7 separate regions of the Homo sapiens genome follow, and regions 1, 2, 3, 5, 6 and 7 are each linked to region 4. Evidence: promoter capture Hi-C in 16 types of primary human blood cells and fetal thymus (Javierre and others, 2016). All regions are on one chromosome and are shown on one strand. The core of a region is centred on a gene start or on the middle of the fragment in contact, and the rest is flanking DNA. Distances in the headings are between cores, read along the strand shown. Region 1 overlaps ARL15 (ARF like GTPase 15). Region 2 overlaps ARL15 (ARF like GTPase 15). Region 3 overlaps LINC01033 (long intergenic non-protein coding RNA 1033). Region 4 holds the start of FST (follistatin). Region 5 has its middle 5.0 kb from the start of ARL15. Region 6 has its middle 30 kb from the start of HSPB3. Region 7 overlaps ARL15 (ARF like GTPase 15).

Evidence for each region. Contacts are between HindIII fragments. The CHiCAGO score rates a contact against its expected background, and 5 or more counts as called.
Region 1: a fragment that was not itself captured here is called in contact with the fragment with the promoter of FST in region 4 in 16 of 17 cell types (total B cells, erythroblasts, megakaryocytes and 13 more); the score reaches 26.3 in total B cells.
Region 2: a fragment that was not itself captured here is called in contact with the fragment with the promoter of FST in region 4 in 1 of 17 cell types (total B cells); the score reaches 7.5 in total B cells.
Region 3: a fragment that was not itself captured here is called in contact with the fragment with the promoter of FST in region 4 in 1 of 17 cell types (total B cells); the score reaches 5.1 in total B cells.
Region 5: a contact is called between a fragment that was not itself captured here and the fragment with the promoter of FST in region 4, in 1 of 17 cell types (total B cells). The highest score is 5.6, in total B cells.
Region 6: a contact is called between a fragment that was not itself captured here and the fragment with the promoter of FST in region 4, in 1 of 17 cell types (M0 macrophages). The highest score is 6.8, in M0 macrophages.
Region 7: a contact is called between a fragment that was not itself captured here and the fragment with the promoter of FST in region 4, in 3 of 17 cell types (total B cells, naive B cells and total CD8 T cells). The highest score is 8.2, in total B cells.

What each region holds. Positions count from the first base shown.
Region 1 is chr5:54,232,225-54,236,110 of GRCh38, forward strand. The region is part of intron 1 of ARL15 (ARF like GTPase 15); the gene reads right to left. Among named protein-coding and RNA genes, the nearest start is that of ARL15, 76 kb to the right of the region's middle. The HindIII fragment of the contact is 1,062 bases long and covers 1,201-2,262 here.
Region 2 is chr5:54,288,165-54,291,853 of GRCh38, forward strand. All of the region lies in intron 1 of ARL15 (ARF like GTPase 15), which reads right to left. Among named protein-coding and RNA genes, the nearest start is that of ARL15, 21 kb to the right of the region's middle. The HindIII fragment of the contact is 1,344 bases long and covers 1,646-2,989 here.
Region 3 is chr5:54,402,070-54,405,557 of GRCh38, forward strand. It overlaps LINC01033 (long intergenic non-protein coding RNA 1033), which reads left to right. Exons shown (of 5, transcript NR_126379.1): 3 at 1,454-1,719. Among named protein-coding and RNA genes, the nearest start is that of HSPB3, 52 kb to the right of the region's middle. The HindIII fragment of the contact is 226 bases long and covers 1,851-2,076 here.
Region 4 is chr5:53,478,380-53,482,073 of GRCh38, forward strand. It overlaps FST (follistatin), which reads left to right and starts at 2,250. Exons shown (of 6, transcript NM_013409.3): 1 at 2,250-2,497. The coding sequence starts at 2,413. RefSeq lists an enhancer at 3,483-3,552. The HindIII fragment of the contact is 5,217 bases long and covers 1-3,255 here.
Region 5 is chr5:54,313,708-54,317,529 of GRCh38, forward strand. No RefSeq gene overlaps it. Among named protein-coding and RNA genes, the nearest start is that of ARL15, 5.0 kb to the left of the region's middle. The HindIII fragment of the contact is 4,389 bases long and covers 1-3,478 here.
Region 6 is chr5:54,423,754-54,427,452 of GRCh38, forward strand. No RefSeq gene overlaps it. Among named protein-coding and RNA genes, the nearest start is that of HSPB3, 30 kb to the right of the region's middle. The HindIII fragment of the contact is 626 bases long and covers 1,247-1,872 here.
Region 7 is chr5:54,248,744-54,252,408 of GRCh38, forward strand. The region is part of intron 1 of ARL15 (ARF like GTPase 15); the gene reads right to left. Among named protein-coding and RNA genes, the nearest start is that of ARL15, 60 kb to the right of the region's middle. The HindIII fragment of the contact is 1,094 bases long and covers 1,349-2,442 here.

The sequences.
Region 1 (3,886 bases), core at 482-2,981, 750 kb after region 4:
CCTGACCACATTTGCCTGTATCCTTTACTAGATTCTTGGCTCTTTGACAGCAGGTACTGAGGCTGTCTGTTCACGGCTGCAACCCTAACATAACCCAAGAGCACTATTAATACATAGTGCTCTTTCAATAAATATCATTGTCAAATGCCATTCTCAAAAAGGTAGGCAGAAAAACAGGAAGGGAAGGAGAGACCAGAGTAAGCAATGGCTCCTTACTATCTATGGAAAAAAGTTTCCAGTTGTTCTGACATTCGAAGCTCCCTTCCACTGGGCCTCAAGACCCTAAGTTCATATTTGAAAGGCTGCACAGGAGAAAGCAGAGCCTTATGCTGCATTTGGGGGTAAAAATAGAACCAACAGGTAGAAATATGGGAGAAACAGGGCAGAGTGGGAAGGGCAGGGGTGCTTAATTAAAGACGCATGCCCACCTACCAGGAAAGCCACAAAATTGCTTCTCAGAACTTGTGTTCAGGGACCTCTCCGGTCTGCTCTGCCTTCAAGACACATTCTTTTCTCCTCTGATTTCCTCTATTCCCACAAGAGCCATCAATTGGAGTCTACCCTCAGCCCCTTGTTCGGCTGACACTCATGTTCACCCCTGCCCTCATACACCATCCTTGTTTGCAATGGCTTCACAACACCCAGTTCTATGCTTCTCCTAGTCCAGCCGTTTTCAATGTGTGCATGGACTCCTGAGGGTCCCCAAGACCCTTTCAGAGGATCTGCAGGATCAAAACTAATGTCATCATACTAAGACATTATTTACCTCTTGCATTGTGTTTGCATTAACATTGATGGAGAGAGTGAGTGAGTGAAACTGCTGGCCCTTTAGCACAAATCATGCTGGTGGCACCAAACTCTACCAGCTGCCATTGTGTTTTACATAAAAATGGCCTTGATGAAGCAGTAAACTATCAATTTTATTAAATCTTGACACGTTACTATTCTGTGTGATGAAATACATACAAAACATTTCTGCTCTATGTAAAAGTCTAAGGGTTGTCTCAAGGAAAAGTACTCGTGAACCTAACTAACTTCTCTTTTCATGGAACACCATTTTTACTTGAAAAAATGACTTACAGGCAAACTATAATTATTCGAACTTGGGTATTTCACAGATATTTTCTTAAAAATAAATGAAGTGGGCATGTCAATTCAAGGAAAACAACTGTTAGTATTTGTTGCCAGTGATAAAATTCAAGCTTTCAAATGAAAATTAAATTCTTAGAAAACTTGTATCTGCCATCATGAACTTGACATATTTACAAGACTGATATTGTGTTAACATTTGGAAGATTTACATAACTAGATGAACCAATATTTTCCAAGACCAATGTGTAATATTACAAAGTCATGCCTGAGCAAAAGAGTCTTTCAAGGTCCAAGAGAGACTACTGGCTTTTAACATAACTAACTAGAATAAGTTCACTGATATGGTTTCAGGTTCCACATGGCAACTAGCCCCTAAGGAACTACCATTTGATTGTTTAGATATAGAATCACAGAAGACTACTCACAATTATCAGAAAAGGCTATTAAAATATTCTTTTCCAACTTCATAGCTGCGTGGGGTTGAATTTTCTTCACATACTTTAACCAAAACACACAACAGATTAAATGCAGAGGCAAATATGAGACTCTAGCTGCCCTCTATTAACCCAGACATTAAAAAGATCTGCAAAGAGGTAAAACAATGCCATTTTCTCACTAATTTTTGTTTTGGAAAATATAGTTCTTTTTCATTTAAATGTTATTCATATTAACATGTAATGGGTTTATTTTTATTTATTTTTTGAGACAGTCTCGCTCTGTTGCCAGGCTGGTACAACGGCAAGATCTCAGCTCACTGCAACCTCTGCTTCCCTGATTCAAGCAATTGTCCTGCCTCAGCTTCCCAAGTAGCTGGGATTATAGGCGCGTGCCACCAAGCCCGGCTAATTTTTTTATTTTTGTAGAGATGGGGTTTCTCCATGTTGGCCAGGTCTCGAACTCCTGGCATCAGGTGATCCGCCCGTTTCAGCCTCCCAAAGTGCTGGGATTACAGGCTTGAGCCACCAGGCCTGGCCCGTTACTATTGTTATTTTTAAATGCATTAGTAAAAAAAAAAAAAATTTTAATTGCTAGAACATTAAATATCAATACCCACATTAATAAAAGCTATTTGGGAGCCTTAATAATTATCAATGGTGTAAAGGGGTCCTGAGACCAAAAAGTTTGACTTCACCAGGTGTTTGAACACTACAGATCCCATCTTGCCCATGAAGCTTCCCTAGACATCCCCACCCCACCGTGCTCCCTTCTGCATCCTACAATAGCATCCACTGGTAAGGCCACTATTTTAATAATGATATGGTTGCTTTATACTAATGAATTATGTTTTTGTACAACAGTCTCCTAGTGTCCATGTTTAAGAATTTAAGGGACTTTGCTTTCCAAAGCTGTTAACCCAACTAGCTCTGTGAAAGTGAAACAAAATTATGGACTTAAATTTCTGTCTGTGTCAAAAAAGAGTAAAATGCACCCTCTAGTGGACTTGTAAGCTCACAGAACACAAAATAAATTTATTGGATTGTCAGAAGAATTACAACTCCGTCCCAGAAAATTCAGATTATAAAATAATAATATATGAGCATAGGGAAATTAATTTTAATTTTTTGATAATATGTTTTTAAAAGAGCTAAGAAAATGTGAAACCAAATCTAGTTTGAATGTAGTTCATAACTAAATGCAAAAGTAAACCTGAGGTCACACACAAAAAACTTCTTTCTTAAATTCCTATGAATTGATTATACATCGGCTATCCAAAATAATCTGTTCAAATTATGTCTTATTAACTACTTATAACTTTAAATACATAGAAGCATTAACATGGATAAAGTTGGGATTATTATTAGTTCAATTTCCAAATATTAAAACTACACTCAACTTACAACCTGGGCATTCCAATGGCCTTCACAAAATCTGAAAAAGGACCTTTGAAGGATAAGAACCAATGCTTGGGGTATACTTTTAACTCTGTATGTTAATGTTAAAAGGATTTAATTCTATGCATCTTTCTCTAGGATGACATAAGAAAAACAGTGTAAAAATACACTCAACCTTATCAGATAAAATAATGTAATGACATGGAAAGAAGTCTGAAATATATGGTTAAACTAAAAAATGTAGTCACAGAATAACGGGTGGCATGATCTAATTTATGTTTTAAAAAATGTACGCACGTGTACCCATGTTTATGAGCACATATGCACGTTAATTCTATAGTTAAACCTTTTTTTTTTTTTTGAGACAAGGTCTCGCTCTGTCACCCAAGCTGTAGTACAGTGGCTCGCTCATGCCTCACTGCAGCCTTGCTCCTGGGCTCAGCCTCCCAAGTAGCTGGGAATATAGGCATGTGCCACCACACCCAGCTAATTTTTATAATTTTTGTAGAGACAGGGCTTCAACATGTTGCCCAGGCTGGTCTCGAACTCCTGGGTTCAAATGATCTGCCTGTCTTGGCTTCCCAAAGTGCTGGGATTACAGGTGTGAGCCACCACCCCGGGCTATAGTAAAGTATTAACATTTGTTATTTCTGGCAAGGAATATGCATTAGTAGCAAAAATAATGGAAGGGCATTTGACTATACTTCTATACTGTTAAGATGCTGTGAGCATTTTTAATTCAAAATAATCAAATATGGAATTTTTAAGGAAATTACAGTTATAATTAATTCAAAGAACTGTATGAAATGGGAATTGTTATTTCATCAACTAGGACATTAAAAGGTTTGAGTAACAATAAGAAATTTGATATAGCTATTTGGTTTTTAAATCATTAGACTGGAAAAGAAAATTTTTTAAATGGCTTTATCACCAGAACACAATGTCTGATTCCTCTGATGATA
Region 2 (3,689 bases), core at 1,068-3,567, 810 kb after region 4:
GTGAAGAATGGCTGAGTGCAGTTGCAGACAAGTCTGTTTCTTAGTTAAAAAACTATATTCCTCAGTTTCTTGCAGCTAGGAATGGCAGCATGATCAAATTCTAGTAAATGAGATATAATTAGTAAGTCTTACAAGTCTTCCAGGAGGGAAGCACACTCTTCTTCTGCCCTTTCACCATCCAGCTATCTGGAATGCAGAAGTGATGGCAGGAGCTCTGGCACTAATTTTGGACCATAAGCTTAAAGTCTACATATAGTGGGCAGAAGCTTCTTGGGGCCCTAATGACTTCTGGACTTACTTGCCTGAGCAAAAAATGAAACTGTCAAAGCCACTATATTCCAACCAATTCCAGTCCTAATTGATACAGTGGTTGAGAGAATGTGACAGAACCACAATTTGAACTCAAGTCTTTTGGACGTGGGGGCCAAACTCAATCATTATGAGCAAGTGCAAATGAAGTCAAACAAACTGAGTAAAGCAGGTTTACAGTTTACATGTATTTTATAATTCAACAAATCATAAAAGTCTGACTACCAAAGGCCAATAAAAAAGAAAAACACGCAGATGCAGTGTCACTCACCTACTACAAATAACACTTTGGACAAGCCTCTTTGACTCTGTAGCCTACCTGGACATATAAGGTTTTTCCCTCAATACAAGTACCTACAATAAGGCATATGGGCAATAAAAACTGAATATAGGCACCAGCTTCTCATGCATGGCAGAAACCTATCAAATTCAGATTTGTAAGGAGTAGATGAGACTTGCAAGAGCACACGGGATTCTGGAAAGCCTACAGCATATTTTGCAAGGAAGTAAGAGGCCTGTCTCATTAACTTCAAGCAAAAGAATTTTCCATACGTCATTAACAACTAGAAGAACTCAGCCCAGGCATTGTAACTCCCTAAACCACTGATGCCCCAGGGTGGCAAGTGTAGCATAGATCGGCAATTCCTTTGAAAGGCTCAAGGATTTTAGATGCCCAAGCTGAAGCACCAATGAACTTTGTATTAATTCTCTTCATTAATTAAACAATTTCATATTTGCATTGACCACACATTTTGTGCCCAGCCATGTCCCATGCTGGGGACGGAACAGTGAGAGCAAAGTCCCTGCTCTTATGGAGCCTACACTCCAGTGGTAGTGGCACACAAAACAACAAATAAAATCAACTTAGATGGTGACAAGTCCTATGAAGAAAAAAAAAAAAAAGAGAGAATGTGCAGGAGAGGGTGGATTTCCGGTACTGCTATTTTTAAGAGCAGACGTGGTCATTCTAACAATATTATAGACAATAAAAGAGATGCCAAAAAAGCTTTCAACAGCTTTGCTTCCCAAACCCCTTGCATAGGCAAACACAGTATTTCTACCGTAAAAAGTCACAGCATTAGACACTCAATTCAATAATCCACAAATATTTATTGAGAAGCAGTTCTGGGAGACATTAAGAGCAAATCTAACAGCTTTCAGTGTTAAGACTTTCTGGAATCAAATCCCAGCCATACAACTTACTATTTGTAGGAGCTTGGGCAAGTTGCTTAACCTCTGTGCATCTTAATTTGTCATTTGTAAAATGAGGATCATAGTAGTACCTATTTCATTGGGTACTAAGAGGATTCAATGAGTTATAAAAGGAAATACAGTAAGCTTCAGATTTGTATTTTGTTTTATATATTTTGTAATTGACATATAATGTATATTTTAATTGAATATCTGCTATGTTCCAGGCACACAACTTCCTCTAAGCATTTGCATAATGGGGCCCCACACACCAGGAAGCCCCAGGGGCTGCAGTCTGCCATCAGCTTCTACAGATGCCTTGCATTCAGGCCTTGTCTGTACTCTTGGTGTCTCCGCCTGCTGTCACCTGCATTACCAGGACTAACTCCTGTGACTTCTTACTGCAAATACTGTAACCCAGAATGGTAACTCTGAGATTCCCCAAAGGAGTAAACATTCCAAATCCAAGTTTCTCTCTTACCACTCTGTCTCAACAGAGCCAGCAACTGATGCAAAACAATAAACAACATCCATTTTTTAGCCAGGCCTCACAATATTGTCCAGATTGGCAATGCGACATGTTTAAACTGAAGAAGTTTTAGTCTACATTATATAAGATTATATCAACTATCACTCAACCTTTTTTTTTTTTTTTTTGAGGTAGAGTCTCACTCTGTCATGAGGCTGGAGGGCAGTGGCACGATCTCGGCTCGCTGCAACCTCTGCCCACCTCCTGGGTTCAAGCGATTCTCCTGCCTCAGCCTCCTGAGTAGCTTGGGATTACAGGTGAGTGCCACCACGTCCAGCTAATTTTCCTATTTTTAGTAGAGACGGGGTTTCACCATGTTGGCCAGGATGGTCTCGATCTCCTGATCTCATGATCCGCCCTCCTTGGCCTCTCAAAGTGCTGGGATTACAGGCATGAGCCACCGTGTCCAGCATCACTCAATATTTTAATATTCAATAATATTTAATATTTTTAATGCTATTATAATGATAGGCATCTACTTTGCCATGCATTGTCCATTAGGCACTTGGAAGCAAAATTAATTAGAATCATAAGGAAAATTATATTTATTCAATTATCCAGAGTATGAATTCATCTTCCATTCCCTACGTCCCATTCGTTTTTAATATAATTAAATGAACACAACTTTTCAGCACTGTCCTTCTACTAAAACCTTAGAAATCATTGTTTAGGGGTTCTTTCCTTGAATTTATCTTTTTAAGCCACTTCTTTGGGCATGATACCTACACTGTCAAATCTATATTTAAAGTCCTCAAAATATTCAAATGGCCAACCCCTTTTACTGAATCAGTACTTCTATATTAACTTACAAAAATTATTGTACTGCCAGGAAAAGGCTGACTACAGGAGAACGTGGTCTAACAACCACTTAAAGGTTCAAAAAAATTTCTATTTGCCTATTAATTAGACAATCTCAACTTTTCTTCTTGTTTTTCTAACTGTGGAGGGAAAAGAAAGGTAAGCTTTGAGGTTAGACAAACCTGGGTTTGAACCATTCAATAAGTTACTTTAGAAAACTCATCCACCCTGAACTTCAATAAGTGGTCCTCAGATGAGAAAAGAGAACAGATAATCCTTGGTTTCCATGGGGGATTGGCTCCAGGACCCTCTGCAGATACTAAAATCTGTGGATGCTCAAGTTCCTATATGAAATGCTGTAATATTTGCATGTAACCTACACATATCCACCTGTATACTTTACATCATCTCTAGATTACTTATACCTAATACAATGACAATGTTGTGTAATTATTAGACTGTATTTTTTATTTTGTATTATTTTTTATATTTTTTGTTCAAATATTTACAATTTGCAGTTCATTGAATCTGCAGATCTAGAACCCGCAGATACAGAAGGCTAACTATAATAATACTAAAGCTACTAACTCTACTGAATTAAATAAGCAAGCATCAGGTGCTTAGCAAAGGGAAGATATTTTCTCACACCTAGTGAATCCAAAGCCAAGCCGCCCACATCTACTACTGGAATGTGGATGAGTCTCCTGAACAGGCCCCACTAGTTCCCATCTGATCCCTGTATAATCCATCTTCCATTCAACAGCCAGAGCAAGTTTTCAACATGTAAATCTGGTGCTATCACCTCCTGCTTAAAACTATTTAATAGTTTAAGAGTAATCTTAACAGAAACCCAACTCCCAGC
Region 3 (3,488 bases), core at 714-3,213, 920 kb after region 4:
AACATTAGAAAAACTTTGGACTTTGACCAGGCTGCTGGTGGAGGTTTAAAAGAAAGTGAGAAAAATCTTGTTGAAAACAGAACAGGGAATCCTTACTATGGAGTGGCATAAATCTTAGCAATATTGTTGTCTGCAATAATGTGGGTGGTGGGAATGTACCTGGTAAACTGGGTGATCTAATTTGCTATTCATAAAGACATAAAGATTCTCAGCTTTTACAGATGGTGAAAAATGCTAAATTAAGAAATGGCTGAAGGACAGAGGTCAAATCCTGGGCACCATCATGAAAACATAATCCAAAGATGAAGCTGAGATGTGACTATAAATCCTTTGTTATGACCTCAGAAAGATCAAAAGTGGTGCCTCAGAGTACCAGTTTGGTCACACAAAGGCCCTCTAAAGTTTTTAAGGCTGTGACTCACAGATTCTTTCAAAAACAGGGCTCCTGAGAAGCTTAAGAGCATAGTTTTTCAGCAGAATCACAAGGTGGGAAAGGGATTATCTCAAAAAGATTTTTGGGCGTGACTTTTGTCTAATGGAATGGACCCCCAAAAATTCATAGGTGATTCACAAATTTTTTAAAAGAATTATATTAGTAGAAACATTGCCAACTAGAACTCAAAGGGATAGAGACAGTATGAAATGAAAAAAGGCCTTGGTACTCACTTTGCCCCTGTTTCACTGCAGGTTAAGAAAAAATTTCAGCTGCATACATGTACTAACTTTCATGAAAAAGAAAGAATAGCTAAGCATGGTGACTCACTCCTGTAACCCCAGCACTTTGGGAGGACAAGGTGGGAAGACCACTTGAGCCCAGGAGTTTGAATCAGCCTGGGCAACATAGCAAGACTCTGTCTCTTTTTAAAAAAGGATGACTCTGAAGGGGAAGCTAAAAGCCTCAGAGAATAACTCATGCGTAGAAATAGGACTAAATCCTAAGGCGATTCCAACATTTGCCTGGCTGGATTTCAGAGCTGCTATGGGGACATAGTAGTGTGTCCAGTACCTTTCCTTTTTGAATATTAATGCATATAGTGTTTATTCCTGTTCCACCATTGTGTGTTTGGGGTGTGTGTGTGTGTGTGTGTGTGTCTATGTGTGTGCGTGTTAGTTTCAGATTGAGAGGAATTATACCCAAGGAGCTAGAGTTAAGAAATTATACCTAAGGAACCTCTTGTGTACCTGGTCCTGATTTAAATGACAAGACTCTAGACTTTGAGTTGATGCTGTAATGAGACAAGAATTTTAGAAATGTTGAGATGGAGTGGACGTGTTTTGCATGTTGGAGGGACTTGATTCACTGGAGCCTAGAAGGCAGACTATGGTAGCCAGCCCTCAAGATTGTCTCCTCCTGGTATTCATACCCTTGTATAATTCCCCTCCCACATTGTACCAGAATTTATCTGTGTGACAGAATATGGCAGAAGTAATGATATGTCACTTCTGAGATTAGGTTATAAAAGACATTGTGGCTACCATCTCTCATCACTCACTCAAAGGGAAGCCAACCACCATGCAATGAGAATCTCAGGTAATGAGGACCTGAGACCTGTTGTCAATCACGTGAATAAGCTTGGGAGGAGATTCTCCAGCCCCAGTCAAGCCTCAGAAGACTTCAGCCCTAGGTGACAGCTTGATGATAATCTCGGGAGGCAGAACCACCCAACTAAGCCACTCCTGGATTCCTGACCCTGACCCTGACCCTAGAAACAGTGTGAGGTAATAAACGTTGTTTTAAGCTCTTAAATTTGGGGGTAAATTTTTAGGCAGCCATCAATAATTAATACACACCTCTAATGTATTTGTACTTACACCACATACCATGGGATCTCACAAAAGAGCAATTTTAAAGCTTGCTTGGATAGCCGATATCTTTATTTTCAGAACATATTCTTCATGCATAAAGAAGCAAAGACTCTTTCCTTCAGTATAATCCTTTTGATAGAAGCGAAAACTTAAGTCTGGCAGTTTTCCTAATATATGTTTTTCACACTTTTCCTTTATTTTAGGCAATTCTAAATAGACAAAATCAACTTGAGAGTGTTCTTGGATTTAATTTAGAAACAACCCCAGTTAAGCTTTTCATAAAACTTTTAAATTGGGCTGGCTTTTATTTTAGGAATATGAATGTTCTTGGAATTCTTCCAGATCTCTAAGCAATAATCTTTTACGCAATCCCCTTTATTTTGTTATGAAAAAAGAGCCTAGGTAGTTCTTTTAAGGTTTACTTTTTTGTAAAGGTATCTTTAAAACATCCAGATGCCTCTAGACATTCAAGATAGAACGAGGCACTCACAACTTCTATCTGCCTATGTTTCATCTATTTTTCTATGCTGTTGTGTGAATTTTGACGTTTTATTTTGTCAAGAATAGTGGTGAAAAACCAATGAATTTTTAAGTGATTGAGCTCTAACATTTCCTACATTCTCCTTCCAGAAAGTAAATACACAGTAATTATCATTCATTATTACCTTCTCCATCTGACAACTGCCTTTCACCCCTCAAATTATTGTGCATTTCACATTCTTTTTTCTACCTAGGACTAATTTGTCCAATCAACCGGACATCTGTTTTTCTTCCCCTTTTTTGAAAACAGGCTGCTTCTATGTTTTCAGGGCCTTCCTTTCTAGAACATGTAAGAACTTGTTCTCAGACTACTTGTAAGCAAGACACTCTCTGAGGTTACAAGTCTGGAAGCACTTTCTGAGAACAATTAAAAGATCTGTCTGCCTGTTAGGGCGTTCCATGGGAATGTTACACTCTTTGGAAGAAAGCTTTGTGTAAGCAACAGTCACTTCTACATAGACAATACAAATGTCACTTCATTTATTAACATTACGTGTCTAGATGATTGACTGCCCTTGGAAAAATATATATGGAATGAGGCAAGCTTATTAAAACCTAAATAACTCTGAAGATCTCTTACTTGGTCTGTAAACTTTCTACTCTTATAGCTCATGCATTTTCACAGGAAACAAAAGCCCTTAAAGGCCAAATTTCCACAACAAAACAGTGAATCTTTTCAGGATATAATCCTTCAATTCTTTCCTAAGTACGTTTAGATAATTTTTTTTTCTTTTTTTTTTTGTTTTTGAGATGGAGTTTCACTCTTGTTGCCCAGGCTGGAGTGCAATGGTGCGATCTTGGCTCACTGCAACCTCTGCCTCCCGGGTTCAAGCAATTCTCCTGCCTCAGCCTCCCAAGTAGCTGGAATTACAGGCATGTGCCACCACACCTGCCTAATTTTTGTATTTTTAGTAGAGACGGGTTTTCACCATGTTGGCCAGGCTGGTTTTGAACTCTGGAACTCAGGTGATCTGCCCGCCTTGGCCTCCCAAAGTGCTGGGATTACAGGGGTGAGCCACCGTGCCCAGCCCTTTTAGATAATTTTTAAATCAGGAAATATATGATGGTGATGACCACATGTGACACCCCAGCCATGAATAAGTTCTTGGCCTTTCTTTTGACTTTAGCCTCATTCTTCCCCT
Region 4 (3,694 bases), core at 1,000-3,499:
CACATCATTGTATAAGGACTATACCATTTCTCTGAATAAAGAAGAAATAAATTCAGCTTTGGAACTCTGCCATTGAGTGGCGGCTCCTGCAAAGGGGACAGTTTGCTATTAATTGTTAATGTCGTCTGCCATTAGAGGGCACTAAACAACTCTACATTAATGAGTTGGAGGGAAGAGAGAAAAGGAGACTGGAAAAGAAAGAGAGGGAGAAAAGGGAGGGAGAGTACGGGTAGAGTCTGGGTAGAGGGAGGGAAGGAGAGAAGAGGGGAAGGAGTAGGGGAAAGAGAGCAGAGGGAATGAGTTGGAGGACTGGAGGGAAAGGGAGAAGGGGAGAGAGACAGCGAGACAGAAACAGACAGAATGATTCTGGAAAGATTAAGAAGGATGTGGAGCCCCCACAGCCGTCTGAAGTGAGCAAAATCCAGTCTCCCCCGGGCCGCCCGAGCCCCTCCCCTCCCGTCCTCATGACGGTAATTATAAAGCGAAAAGCGGCGGCGAGGTCACCCGCTTTTACCAGCCTGCTGCACCGAATGCGCGCGGTGCAGGTGCGGCGGCCGCGGGGCTTTGTGATTCATGCCCACTTTCAAAGGGGGGCTTGGGCCCGTCTGAGAGGCACCCAAACAACTGTCTTCTAATATTAGCACGGCTGTATTTCGGGATCTATTATAGTCTGTCCAGACAGATCCCATTGTAATGGGATCTTTTATTAAAAGATTAGCACTATCTCCTGCAGTTGGTGGAAAAAAATCTGTTATCACTGAGTTATTTGCAGTTGTGGAGGGGGGAAGGTTGACGGAAGATGGGGGGTGGGAGGGCTAGAGGAGGACTGGGGGAGGGTCTGGCGGGGGGAGGGCAGTTGCAGGGGGGGAAGAAGGGCAGATTTGAAATTCGTAGAACAAATCCCAGTGACCTGCGAATGTCCAAGAATTTTGTCTGCATACTTCGCTATCTGTTGTCCTTCGGGCTTCAGATGCGAAAAGAACAAATTTAAAAGGCAGCTTTGGAATAAACAATATAGCATTTTCCGTGAAGTAATCGTTTTATATAAAAGGAAATATCGCCTCCTCAGTTTCATTCAGCGGTGCCAAAAATGTTATAAATGAGAGACCCGCCAACTTTCAGCGAAGAATGCCAGGCACTGTACTTAATAAACTGAGGCTACAGAAGTTCATTATGGATGTTGCAATCTTTTTTATTCCGCGAAAAGAGAGAAGACGAGACAGAAAGAGAGAGAGATTGGAGCCGAGGAGACTGAGAGACAGACAGAGGCACACAGGACAGAAACTGGGGAGTCTCCAGGCGGGAGAGGAAGGGGGGGCCAGACCGCCTACGTCGGCGCCCCCGCTCCGGGCTCCGACTCCAGACGCCGCGAAGTGAAAGGGGAGAAAAGAAAGGGAGAGGGCGAGGCTGTGCCGCGGGGAGACCGGGCCTGAGGTGTTAAACATTTTTGTTTGCTTCCGACTAGTCCAGACGAAGGGCCGCGTCTCGGTAGCGCTCTGCCAGGGTGGAAGGTGCCGGGGCCGGGGTTCCTAGCAACACCTCTGGGCTGGGGGTGGCTGCAAAGTCAGGCACTCACAGACCCAGACACAAAACCTCGCGGGTCCCGCGCCCAGGCTGCGGGTGCCCGGAACCGCCGCGAGGCCGGCGCGCTCCGACCCGACCCGGGGCGGGATATTTGGGCAGCCCGGGGCTCTTCGGCCGTTTGCAAAAGTCTCTTTGGAGCGGAGGAGAGGCAGCACGGAGACAAACTCCCGGGTTCCCCCCGCCACCGCCTCCAGCGCCCCCACCGCGCCCTCCCTCTCACACTCGCGCGCGCGCGCACACACACTCACACACACACTCACACACACACCCGCCACCCCGGGCGCGCCGGCGCTGCCGGCGAGCGGCGGCGAGCAGGACTTGAAGTGGGTGTTCTTCCCCACTCCCCACCCCCGACGCGTAGCCCCCAACCCCCGCCCCGGTCGCCTTCCCCCTCCCTCTCGCTCCTACGCAAATAAGAACTCGACGATTCCCTTCCAGCCGTTTTGATTTCGGGCACCTCCGAAAGATAATTGGGAAGGGTTTCCAGAAGGTGGGAAATGTCACCTGATTCACACTGAACTTTTGAAAGCTCCCCACCCCCAAGGAGCCGCGCACACCCTCGCTCGCGGCCGCCCTCCCACAGCCCCACACACTGGGAGACCGCCCACCGCAAACCGCGGAGACCCCCGTCTAGATTTAAAGCGCGGCTGCGCCCGGCTTCTGACGTCCATTGAATCGCGCGGGCGGCCGGCGGCGAGCGCGGGGCTGCGCCGGGATCGCTGCGCCCTCCGCCGCTGGCCTCTGCGACGCGCGCCGCTCGCCCGAGCCACCCGCCGCCGCGCCGGCTCCCCGCGCCGCTGCGCTCCTCGCCCCGCGCCTGCCCCCAGGATGGTCCGCGCGAGGCACCAGCCGGGTGGGCTTTGCCTCCTGCTGCTGCTGCTCTGCCAGTTCATGGAGGACCGCAGTGCCCAGGGTAAGCGAGTGGGGATGCGCTGGGGAGGCTTGGCTGAGGACAGGGGGGTCGACTTTTCTGTGGTCTCCACTTGGTCTGTTCTGAGCAACGCTGCTCTCGGAAGATGTTGAACCAACTTGGGGACTCCGGGATGGAGAGGAGTGGGAAAATTGTAGGCAATGACACTTTAGGACTGGGAACTGAGTTTGGAGCTCGGTTATCTTGAAAAAGGAAAGGGAGCGAGCTGGGGTCTTAGTAGTTAGGGTTAAATGCTCCAAGTTCTGGCCATGATAACTTTAGATGTGATCTCCTCTGTTTGGCTCTGAAGAAGGGAACAAGTATCAGTAGTAGCCTGGAGATTTCAGTCGACCCATTTGCAGTCTCATCTCTCTCCCTCCCACATCTTTTGGATACTTAAAAAAAAAAAAGGAAAGAAAGAAAAGAAAACCTGGGGGTTTGGGGGAGAGATACTGAATTTTATTTGGTGGCTGGGGGACGTGGTTTCAGAAACTTTGCCCAAACTTGGAAATGTGGGTGCTGAAGATTTTCAAGGGAAGTAGCTTTCTGCCTAGTGGATGCTTCTTCCAACCCCATCCCCCATTCTCGCAAAAAAAAAAAAAAAAAAAAAAAAGCCAAATTATTACCCCAAAGTGCTTTGAGCACTTTACAGTTTTTTTCCCCTCTGCCTCATTCTTCTTTCTGACCCTTAGCTTTCTGTAAAACAGTGAGCAGCCCATAACTGACTTAAATTCTGAAATGGGTTAAGAGCAAATTTCTGAAGCTTGCCTTTTAAAAATAGATTTGTTTATTTCAATTAGTCTTTGGGCAGAATGTTTAAAATAATAATAGCAGCTTGCGATCCAATGATTGTTAAAGTCATATTGGTGATTCATGAGAAGTCTTCTCGACCCAAATCCGAACATTAAAAAGGGGGAAGAGGGAGAAATCACTTGCAAATATTTCTTGCTAGGTATGAGATAGGTACTTATAACCGTGAAATGGTAGGAAGACTCCCCCCTCCCCCCACCTTAAGGCATTACTTTCCCTGCTTCAGCGTTAACATTTTAAGTATGTTGTAAACTGCCCTCCTGGGCACTGCCCCTCGCCGTCTGCATGGCACTGCGCTGGGTTGCCCGCCTTTAGAGGAGAGGCTCTGCCTGGTGCCCGGACGTGGGCGCGGAGGAAAGCAGCCCTCGGAGATTTCGAAAGATCGCGGTG
Region 5 (3,822 bases), core at 34-2,533, 830 kb after region 4:
ACCTTCTGCCATGATCATGAGGCATCCCCAGCCATGTGGAACTGTAAGTCCATTAAACCTCTTTCTTTTCTAAATTGCCCAGGTTCAGGTATGTCTTTATCAACAGCGTGAAAACAGACTAATACAGAGGCCATCACTGTTGCTTGTCAAAAGCAAAGAGAAATTATTTTGACAGTCCATACTCTAAAATTCCATAAAGGCTGCTGGCTAGCCAAATTTGGAGGAAAATTTTTTGTTAAACTGTCACTTGCAAGGAATGAAAACAGAAATGCATTTTTGCAACTTGGTCTCCCAACTTTCCAGAAAAATCAACATATTAGTGGTTATTTCCAGCTATTCTTTTGTTGTTTCCAAGGAGAATACTGCCTTCACTAGTTTTGTATCATGCATACACTATCTCACTGAAACTTTTCATAAATCTTTAATGGATACATAAAACTATTGTAAAAATGTACTACTGTGTTAACAAATCCTTTATTAGTTACTACTATTATAAATATTACAGTGAATGTTTGCTTATAAAACTATCCACATCTTATTATCCTAAGAATAATTTCTAGTAATAGAATTACTGGTACAAAGAGTATGAGCACTTCTTTTCTTTTTTTTTTTTTTTTTTTGAGATGGAGTCTCGCTCTGTTGCCAGGCTGGAGTGCAGTGGCACAATCTTGGCTCACTGCAACTTCCGCCTCCCGGGTTCAAGTGATTCTCCTCCCTCAGCCTCCTGAGTAGCTGGGACTACAGGCACACGTGACCACACCCAGCTAATTTTGTATCTTTTTTTAGTAGAGACGGGGTTTCACCATGTTGGCCAGGATGGTCTTGATCTCCTGACCTCGTGATCCGCCTGCCTCAGCCTCCCAAAGTGCTGGGATTACAGGCGTGAGCTATCACGCCCAGCTGAGCACTTTTAATACTCAGTTTTGACCTAGCTTATGTAGTCTTCTTCCTTCTACCCCCCAGCTCCAAAGTAGGGAATGATTATCTTGTCTCATCTTTGCCTTAATATTATTCCTTAATAGCTGAAAGATGGTATCTTTCATTATAATGACTCTTAAATCATGGACACTTCTTTTTCAGAAAAAGTGGTCAGCTCTGCAGAGGTCATCAGGCACTTTTTCTCACTTACCACATCCAATAACTCCTGTGACTTTAAAATTCTCTTCTGAGTCCTTTTTCCCTTTCTCTCCAGTGGATACCTTGACACCCACCTCTGATTTACCCCAGTCCTCTTCTCTGCTTCCTAAACCTAAATGAAGTATCACTGTGTCCCAGAAGATGAACTTCATCAGAACAGGGTGTCCCCACATGAAGCCGCTAACAGAGCTTGATTCATAAATGGAATCAAGCCAATGATTATTGAATGAGGTCAGAGGTTGGAATTAGAGTAGGGTTTTCTGCTCTTAGCATGGTGACCTACTTGCAACTCAAACTAGAGGAACCCCTCACTGAAATAGCTAAGTCTGAAGTTTTTAATCTAAAATATCTCCATGTCAGTTTAAACCTGTTTTCTCTCCTGCAGGTAGATCTTAAGGCCTTGTATGTCTATTTTTCAAAGATCAGTCCTGGCAGTCAAGATGAAGATTTGTAACTACTTAACTAGATGAGCTTGGACAGGTCACCTGTTCCTTCCAGGCTCCTGTTTACTCAGCCAGGGGATAGAGTTCAACTAATCCCTACCATGATTAAGGGTCACTCACCTTTTCCAAAAAGGGCTTTGCTGGGTCTTGGGGTTTTAAAGCAAGATAAGACATCCACTGAAAATGGTAAATATACGAGGGAAAGATAACTAGATCTCACAAGCAACCACCATTCAAGCACCAAATATCAAGAAGCTGTGTAAATCCCTCTCAATACCAACCCCAGCAAGTTCATTTAATCTCTTAGATACATTTCTACATTGCTGATTGTATTAATTTCCTATTCTGCAAGCCAGTTATGAGCCTTATGGAACTAAAATAAAGGTGTTGGAAGAGCTAAAAGAGTTAATAGATAGATGGAGGCCATTAGTGAATCACACTCATTGCAATTGGGCAGCAAGTCCTTTCTTGAATTGTGAATCTCCTTTTCTGCCACACACGTGTGTCTGAATCTCCCTCAACAGCCTGGCTTGACACCTTGCATGTAGCCCTGGCACCACTAAAGATTGATTGGTTGCTTAGAGCATAGACCTCACTATTTACAGCCAGCCTCATTGTGTCAATATGTCACTGCCTGAGCATACTTGTTAGTACTTCCTGACACAGTCAGCTCCAAGTGAAGGAGAAAAATCAACAAATCCATTAGGCCTCATGATCACCATGCTGAAATCTCACAGCAAAAATCACAGATAAAATACCCTTCCCAAGATCACACATTAAGTAACAGAGCTAAGGACTTTCCTTCCATAACCCTGGAATATCTATTTCTTCCCTATACTACTATGGAAGTGACAAGATCTTGGGATCAGTGTGACAAGAAAATAAAGCAGGCCTAGAGTCTACCACGGAGAAACTTCCGCTTATTAGAAATAACAGGACAAAGAAAGGCGAATAGACAAAGCCCTTCCCGATACAAATGTGCACACAGTCAACCTGGTGCCAGAGGAGTTACTAAAGTGTTTAAGGGATGAGAACTCAGTGAGGGTTTGCCAAAGTTTCTGGAGTTCTAATAGAACTCTCCAAGAAAGAAAAAATTTATCTTGGAGGATTTGTGAGGGGAACTTTCCAGATGGGAAAACAGCATATAAAGAATCAATAGCAACAAATTGGGGATGAGGCATTACATACTTAAAAGAAGATGAGTGTTTGAGCCCAAGGTATAGGAGGTATAGACAGTTTAGTTTGGGGAAGTCTAACTGGTGCAAATCAGGGTTCAGCTAGGAGCTTCTCTGCAGATTATTGCTTCCCAACTCCCCATGTGGTGTTGGTGGAAGTTGATTTGCAGCTCCATCCAGTGTAATTGCTCCCTCATTCTGGTCCCTAAGACTGGCATAAAGATGTGCCAACTACAGAGGGAAGCAAATCCCAAAAAAGTGTTTGGGCACTTGCTTTCTTGCCTGCTTCTTATGAGATCATCACCTATTGGGATAATATAGAAACTATTCAAATTGCTTTCTTGTAGGTATTCCACTGAAAGTTGGAAACATCTTGAATGCCCGTGATTTATAATTTTGATCTCTTCTTTCAAGGCTTACATATAAGGAAGCCTTAATCCAAGCTGGCAATTGATTCAAGGCAGCTTGCAAGGAAACGAGAAACTCAGAAACAAGAAACTATAAAATAAAGCCAATGAAAAAAGTGGCTATCATATACCATCTAGATAATAATGCTTCCTATCTCATCCAGACTTGAGATTCTGACTCTATGCTGTTTAAATTGAGAAAGACAGGCATGTAGGTACTCTGGGCAGGCTAATATGGATTCATGCATTCTACATACCTATTTAACACCTACTATATATTAGGGATGCTAGAGAAATATTATCCCTGCTCACATAAAGCTTAGTCTCTAGTGATTGGAGACAGGAAAGATATCAACTAGTGATAAGTGCTATACAGAATTAAAGAGATGTGCTGGCGAGTAACAGGGAAGCATACTCTAGACAGGTAGTCGTGGATGGCATCTCTGGGTTGTGCTAAGTGATACAGTCCAATAAAACTTTCTGTAATGATGGAAATGGCCTATACTTGTACTGCCCAGTATGGTAGCCATTAGCTACACATGGCTATTGAGAACTAGAAATGCAGGTAGTGGATACTGTATTGAACAATGAAGGTATGCAGTAAAAATATGAATGGAGGTCTTCCACTTAAACATGACATATTAAATATACTTGCTTATC
Region 6 (3,699 bases), core at 310-2,809, 940 kb after region 4:
GGCCATATCACAGTCTTAAGCATTTTCATCTGCTTTTTTGTGAGTCCCCTTTACTTAACTCATCACAACTGGTTTTAATTACTTGGTTAATGGACCATATTGCATCCTAGACTATAAGGTAATAAATATATTTTGTTCAAGACAAAAAAATGAAATGACATTCAAATGTATCTAAAATGGAAGTAACTAGTTCTAGATGGCATTTGCTCCAGTAGGTTTTGCTTTTCCTGATTCACTGTTTGCACCTCCACGTCCCCACCCACCCCATGTAAGAGTAGGGGACTATGCCTAGAAGTACCGTGATAGTGCAGTTGGCACACACGTTTCATGGGAACTTCTGGAAATAAAATGGGTGGCAGGGGTGGAATATGAGTTTAAAATACACACTCAGAACTGATTATTTCAAACCACCTCTTACCATCTGAAAATTGGTTTTGTGTGTGTATTTTAAACATACATTCCCCCTTATTTTATTTCTAGAAGTTTTCACGAAATGCCTGTGCCAACCGCCTGGCATTTTCCTCCATTTTCATGGCACTTCCAGGCATAGTCCTTTAATCTTTTTTTTTTTTTTTTTTTTTAGATGGAGTCTTGCTCTGTCACCCAGGCTGGAGTGCAGTGGCATGACCTTGGCTCACTGCAACCTTCACCTCCCGGGTTCAAGCCATTCTCCAACCTCAGCCTCCTGAGTAGCTGGGATTACAGGTGCCCACCACCACACCCCGCTAATTTTTGTATTTTAAGTAGAGACGAGATTTTGCCATGTTAGCCAGACTGGTCTCAAACTCCTGACCTCAAGTGACCCACCCGCCTTGGCCTCCCAAAATGCTGGGATTACAGGTATGAGCCAGTGCACCTGGCTGAGTTCTCTAATCTTATATGGAGTAGTTGGAGATTGGGGGTAAATAGCCACTTCACAGTGTAGCCCAGTGGTTAGGAGCATGGACTGTAGGGCTTCACTGTTCCCATCCCTGCACGTTTCCTCCCTGCAAGCAAGCTATTTAAACTTTCTGTGCCTCCATTTTCTATTCTGGAAAAGGTCGTCGTAAAGCCTAAGAGCAGCAAATGAAGAGTTTCATATATGGCCAGCAACACATTAAGCACTTAGAAGCTAGCTACTGTTATTATTACTACAAAATTATTTTTAGCCACTCGGAAGACATCATTCTCTTACAGAGTTCCAACTGAAGTGTAAAAGAAATAGGAAGCCATAATACAAGACATAATAAGAAACGGCAAGGTGGTAAGCTTCAGATTTGGAGGTCAGCTATATTTCCTGTCTTCTTGGTAGAAATTAGCATTAAGTTTTAGAAAAATCAGCTTTTGTTTACAGAAATTGCAGGATAACAAGTGATTGGGCTGCTTACCTTTAACCCTTCAGTGTTGGAGGATGCTCATGTCTAGAAGTTACAGCTGGGATATCTGACACTGTTAATGAGCTTCTCTTCCTGAGAATCCTAGGAAGCCTGGTGCCTTCTGAGAGCCCCAGCAAAGGGGCTTCCCCTTATGTCATGTTTCTCTTTTTGGCCTCCACTCACTTCAGATACCACTAGAAAGGATTTAATGGGCTATTAGTATCTATTTCTTTTCCACCATGCTTTTCTTCCCAGGTATTTTCTATCCATGCCCATGTATTGGATGGGCTAACACAAAGCCTCCCCTTTCTTATAAGCTGCTATGTATCGCCAGCCTCTGGTGCTCCCTTGCCCAGAGAGAAGCAAAAACCAGTCAGCGTTTGAGAGAATTGCCTGCAGCTGACTTCTAGGCTGGGCACTGTCAACCTTAGTTACTACTTTCTTTCCAAGAAGCATAAGCAGATATCTTTTTCTAATGTTGTGGATTTTAAAAATATGTAGCATGTTAATCTTTTGAAGCTTTGAAAATTAAATTGTGTTTTTCCTGCTCACTTTTCCCATAGGCCACTTCTCTTGGTTTATATGATAGGAAGGGAATTGATAAGAGAATCCTGAGTTGCTGTCACTGTATATGAGTTTATCATCTCCTTCACAGTGGGCACTTGGCTCATCAGCCACAGAATATCCAATGTTCTGAATCAACAGCCTGCAGCAGGATGGCATCAACAGAAAAATCAGGCTGACATGCCCACAAAAAAACCACCCTTTCTCCAAAAACTATTGGAAACAGCCTCTTTGAGTCCTCAAAAGCAAAAAATATTGGGGACCAGACACGGTGGTTCACGTCTGTAATACCAGCACTTTGGGAGTCCAAGGTGGGTGGATCACTTGAGGTCAGGAGTTCGAGACCAGCCTGGCCAACATGGTGAAACCCCGTCTATACTAAAAATACAAAAATTAGCTGGACATGGTGGAACACACCTGTAATCCCAGCTACTCAGGAAGCTGAGGCAGGGGAATGGGAGAATGGCTTGAACCCGAGAGGTAGAGGTTGCAGCAAGCTGAGGTCATGCCACTGCACTCCAGCCTGGCCAACAGAGCTAGACTCCATCTCAAAAAAAAAAAAAAGAAAAGAAAGAAAAAAAAAGAAAAAATTGACTTTTCTTTCCATTGAGAAGAAATTGTTTTTGAACCATGTGGGCAGGGGTATAATTCCTCCACTGTGCTTCACTATGCTTCTGGTTGTGTTATTGCTGGTCCCATAGCTTCAAATTATATAGGTGATTTGCATGAAGAAAGGGAAAGAAGAAATTTCTCTGGAGGGGAAAGACGGTGGTAAGACCACTACCTTCTTCATTTCCCTTTTTTCTGGCTCAACCTCAGAAACTAGGTCTGATTTCTGGATTTAGGGGTGTTAGGCAGTGGTTGAAAGAGCTGTTGAGACTCTGGGGTACAAAGCAGTGCCTTCTCCAGTTTTATAGGGCCAAATGTCACCTCTGAGCAGCTGGAGAGATGTTTTCTCTATTTCTGTGGTATGCCATGTATATAGTGTTTGGGGAGAAATAAGGCCAGAAGTCACATGGCCCCTTCAGCATGTGGAGGGATTTGCAGCTGTGGAACCCAGGAGTGCTCAGGAAGTGGGGGCAGCCTCGCTGAAGAGCTAGGAGCAGCAGACATCAGCAGGAAGAGCAGAGGATAACATCAAGAGGAATCGTGCCTGACACCACCCTGCATGTCCAGGGTTATTTCTGGGAAAGCCAAAGCCTAAGGGGTATTGGGTTTGCTCAAGACTCAAGTCACCTATGGGTAGGTGGTGGCCAATAATCCGGCAAAGTGGGGCTAAAGACAAACTAGACAGCTTGGGCATGAGGTTTGAAAATAGGAGGTCTGGGATGTTTGGGTTACAGTCAAAAAACTAACATGGCTTTAGCAACTTCACTGAACCAAGTCATAAAATTTGTTTCTCTTTCGTGGCTCCAATACTTTGGTGCTCTTAGTACTCTCCAAATATAGATCAGAGATGCAGGAGAAATCAACTTTTAGCAAGCTGAATGAATGATCTTCTAGTGATTAACTCTTCTCTAAGTTTTAAGTGAAAAGCAGCAGGCGTCATGGTGAGTGTGAGTATCCTGTGTTGAACTGGATCATTCGTGTAGGTTTGGGGAGCTCTAGTGAGCATTATGGTACCTTTCTTCCTGGAACACCAAGTTTTAGGCAGTAGCTACAAGTACAGCGATTAGTTACAGAAAGCAGTTATTAGCACACTTGCTCTATTTTACTACCACTTAAAAGCAATTAAGATGGAGAAAATATAAGCCAGACTTCTCATTAGAGGTTTAGAGAA
Region 7 (3,665 bases), core at 646-3,145, 770 kb after region 4:
TCTTGCTCATCTCTGAACTGTTAGTGCCTGGTGCTAGCTGTGTATATGTTGAACTAATGAGTATTCAAAGGAAGCAAGTCATGGGAATAGATGAATTCACTCCCCAAGACAGAAAAAGAGAAAAAGGCCAAGCATGGAACACTGAGAGACTGGTAATACTTAAAAAACCAGACTGACGGCTGGGTGTGGTGGCTCACGCCTGTAATCCCAGCACTTTGGGAAGCTGAGGTGGGAGAATCAGTTGAGCCCAGGAGTTTGAGGTCAACCTGGGCACTGCAGTGAGACCCTGTCTCTAAAAAAAATAATAAAAAATAAAAAAAAGAATCAGTGATGGAAAAGAAGCCAGTGGAGGAAACAGAAGAAGAGCAACCCAAAAATTAGAAGAAAAATTAGGATAGCGTATTATGGAAGCCAAAGGAAAAATGATCAGTAGTATCATAACTTGGCAGACAGGATGCGGGCTGAAAAGAAGTGGATGCATATAAAATTAGTTGAGCTGAGGTAGTAGAGTCCAACTAATGACCCAGTTGCAGTTGGCTAAAAAAAGTGGAGGTAGAACTTTCTATGTACATCTCTTTTAGAAAGTCCATCAGTAAAGAGAAGGAAGAGTCAAATGTGCAATGGCAGGGAAATAGAGCAGAGAAGGTATTTTTCAGAATAGAAGATACTTGAGTCAACGAAGAAGGAAAGACAGAAGAAGATATAAGAGGAAGTGAAGATAACAGAGAAAAAAGTTCAGAAGGGAACGGGAAGAGTAGAGGTAACCAATTAACCTTGGGAATAAGGAAGGAGAGAGATAGGTAACAATATACAGAAACACTTGAAGGAGAGTAAAAGTGCAAGAATTCCCATCTCTAGTTTCTAAGTGAAGGAGTTCATGAGGTCATATCTGAGAGTAAGAAAGGAGAAGTGTGGTTGTGGTTAAGAGCAAAAAAAAAAAAAAAAAAAACTTTAACAGCTGTAGGAGAAAAGAAGGAAATCAATCCCTAGTTGTCTGAGGAATACACAGAATTCCTAAGGCACGACAGAGGAGCCAGGAGAGCTTGTAAGTAATTAATCAGTATCAAAGCCAGCCAACAGGGCTATAGCAGTTTCTGTCACACAGCAATTGGCAGCCTGCCAGGAGAAAAACCGAGTTAGAGTGGCTGTGCCTGGGACTGCATCTCAAGGGTCCTGTGGAGAATATATTCAATGACTGGTCATAGGGTGTGTCAGACCATTTTTGCATTGCTATAAAGAAATATCTGAGTTTGGGTAATTTATAAGAAAAGAGGTTTAATTGGCTCACAGTTCTGCAGGCTGTACAGGAAGCATGGCACTGGCATCTGTTTCTGGTGAGGTCTCAGGAAGCTTACAATCATGGCAGAAGGCTAGCAGGGAGCAGGCCTGTCACATGGCAGGAGTGGGAGCAAGAGGTGGGGGTCGAGGGAGGCACCACACACCTTTAAACAACCAGATTTCCTGAGAGCTCACTATCATGAGGACAGCACCAAGAGGACAGCATCAAATCAACCATAAGAAATCCACCCCCACAATCCAACCACCCCTACCAGGCCCCACCTTCAACACGAGGAACCACACTTCAACATGAGACTTGGGGGGACAAACACCCAAACCATATCACAGGGCTTCTGGCTAAGCAGGGAAATAAAAGCAGCAGGTTTGGGTGAGGCTGACAGAATTGGAGAACAGGAAAGAGATCAGATTTTCAAAATCAGCATGATGATGAGAAGCAAGTTTAGTTAAAGTTGGAGAAGAAAATACCTGATTGTGCAGTCTCTGAAGTGGGAAGAACAAGGTTCAGTAAGTTCTGAGGAGTAGAAATGAAGGTCGCTAAGAGACGAAGGTCTGTGATTTTGGTGGTCTTGATGAGAGACATGATGGTGGAGAGAGGGAGAAGTACAGGGACATGGGTAGTAGGGACGGGACCAAAAAAAACACCAAGAGCTGGTGACAAAGGGCCATTGAAGATGGAGCAGAGTCCACAGGTCCTGGGGGCAGCCTGGAGGGAGAACCATGTTGGCTGTGAAACTAACTGGAAATCCCACATCTTCTGATCCCAGAACAACCCAGCTCTGGAGAGATCTAGACTTACAAGTAGGCACAGTGAAGGTCACTAGGGTCACCATTTTAGTCTACCTGAAACACAATTCACTCTCTGAAAGAAGTTATAAAAAGCAAGGTCCACCTCCTAACAGTGACAGGCTAACTTTATTTAACTAAATATAGTTTTACTATATTTAGTAATCTAACTTCAAATGCTTTCAATCAGATGCTATATTAAATTGAATCAGCCTATCTTCCTAATTATTAAGCATGGCTTGGAAAAGCTGAAGGAAACACAACACTGCTAATTTGCACAGAGGCTTAGAAAGTGATTCACTTGAAAGCCCCTCCCCTAATTCAGGTAAGAAGGAAGAAGATAAGTAAACAATGATGTAAAGCTTTAATTACTGGCTCACACTTTTTATGATAAAACACACACTGCAAAATTCTAAGGTGGCCAAACAACTCTTAAGCATGCTTTGAACTTTAGTGCAAAGAAAGAGATACGTCTGTAGGCTTTTGACAAACATCTAGGTATTTTCATTTAATTTTCCCACTCTTGTTTGTTGAGTATGTTTTTCCACAAGCAGAATTAAATTAAGGAAAGCCAGGCTTTTTAAAAAGTAATTGAATATTAGCATTAGTCAACAGCAACAGTTTGTAATATGGTATTTCCACTGCAGCACCTAGGGATGGCAGAAAACGGAGGCTGCTGATAAACTGTACTGGCATCTTATCTGTACCCTTACTAGATTTCTAAAGTTTATTTAAATGGTTATTCTGTATCTGTGTCTCATAAAGGGATGTCATCAGAACTGCCACCTAAGGAGCTATTCCTAAAGACCTCAGACCTACTGATTCAGAATCTCCAAGAATAAGGATCCAACAAGTAGATTTTAACTTCTTCAGTGTCCACCACACTGTCCTGTTTAAGAACACCTGTAGTGTAATAAGGTAAGCATGAAGTGTCCCCAATTAAGAACACAATCAGCTTTAGAGCAGTGGTTCTCAGCCTTGTCTGCACAATAGAATCACCCTGGAGGACATTAAAAAATCCCAATGCTAGGCCACACCACAAACCAATTAGTACATCAGAATCCCTGGGGTAAGACCTAGATATTGGCCTTTTGCTGCCCATGGGATTCCCATAGTCAATCAAAGTTGACAACCAGTGAAGCAGAGGACCACGTCAAACAACTGTTTAATGAATAAATGAAAAAGACTAATTTAAAATTCTCTGAATTTTTCCTTATTGAACACAAGAAATGATATTCCATGCTATCAGCAACATGCAGACTAGGATCAAAGGGCTATGGACCTTATAGTAACTGGAGAGATTGTCTGTGAGTCATCAGGCAGACAACAGAAACCAAACTAAGCAGGTGGCAATGTGTTAGGAAACTCCTGAATGCATTTAACATTTAGTAAAAGGATCTCGACATCACTCCAGGCAAAAGGAATGTTGATCTAGTAGTTAAGGTAAATTTTCTTTATGGAAGAGACTGCCTCATTAAGTCACCTTGTGCAATCCAGTTCATTTCTTCAAACCTTTCTGTTGCAAAATAGCATCAAGAAAGTTCTGAAGTCCAGGTTTTAGATACTTATTTTGCTCTTTTTAA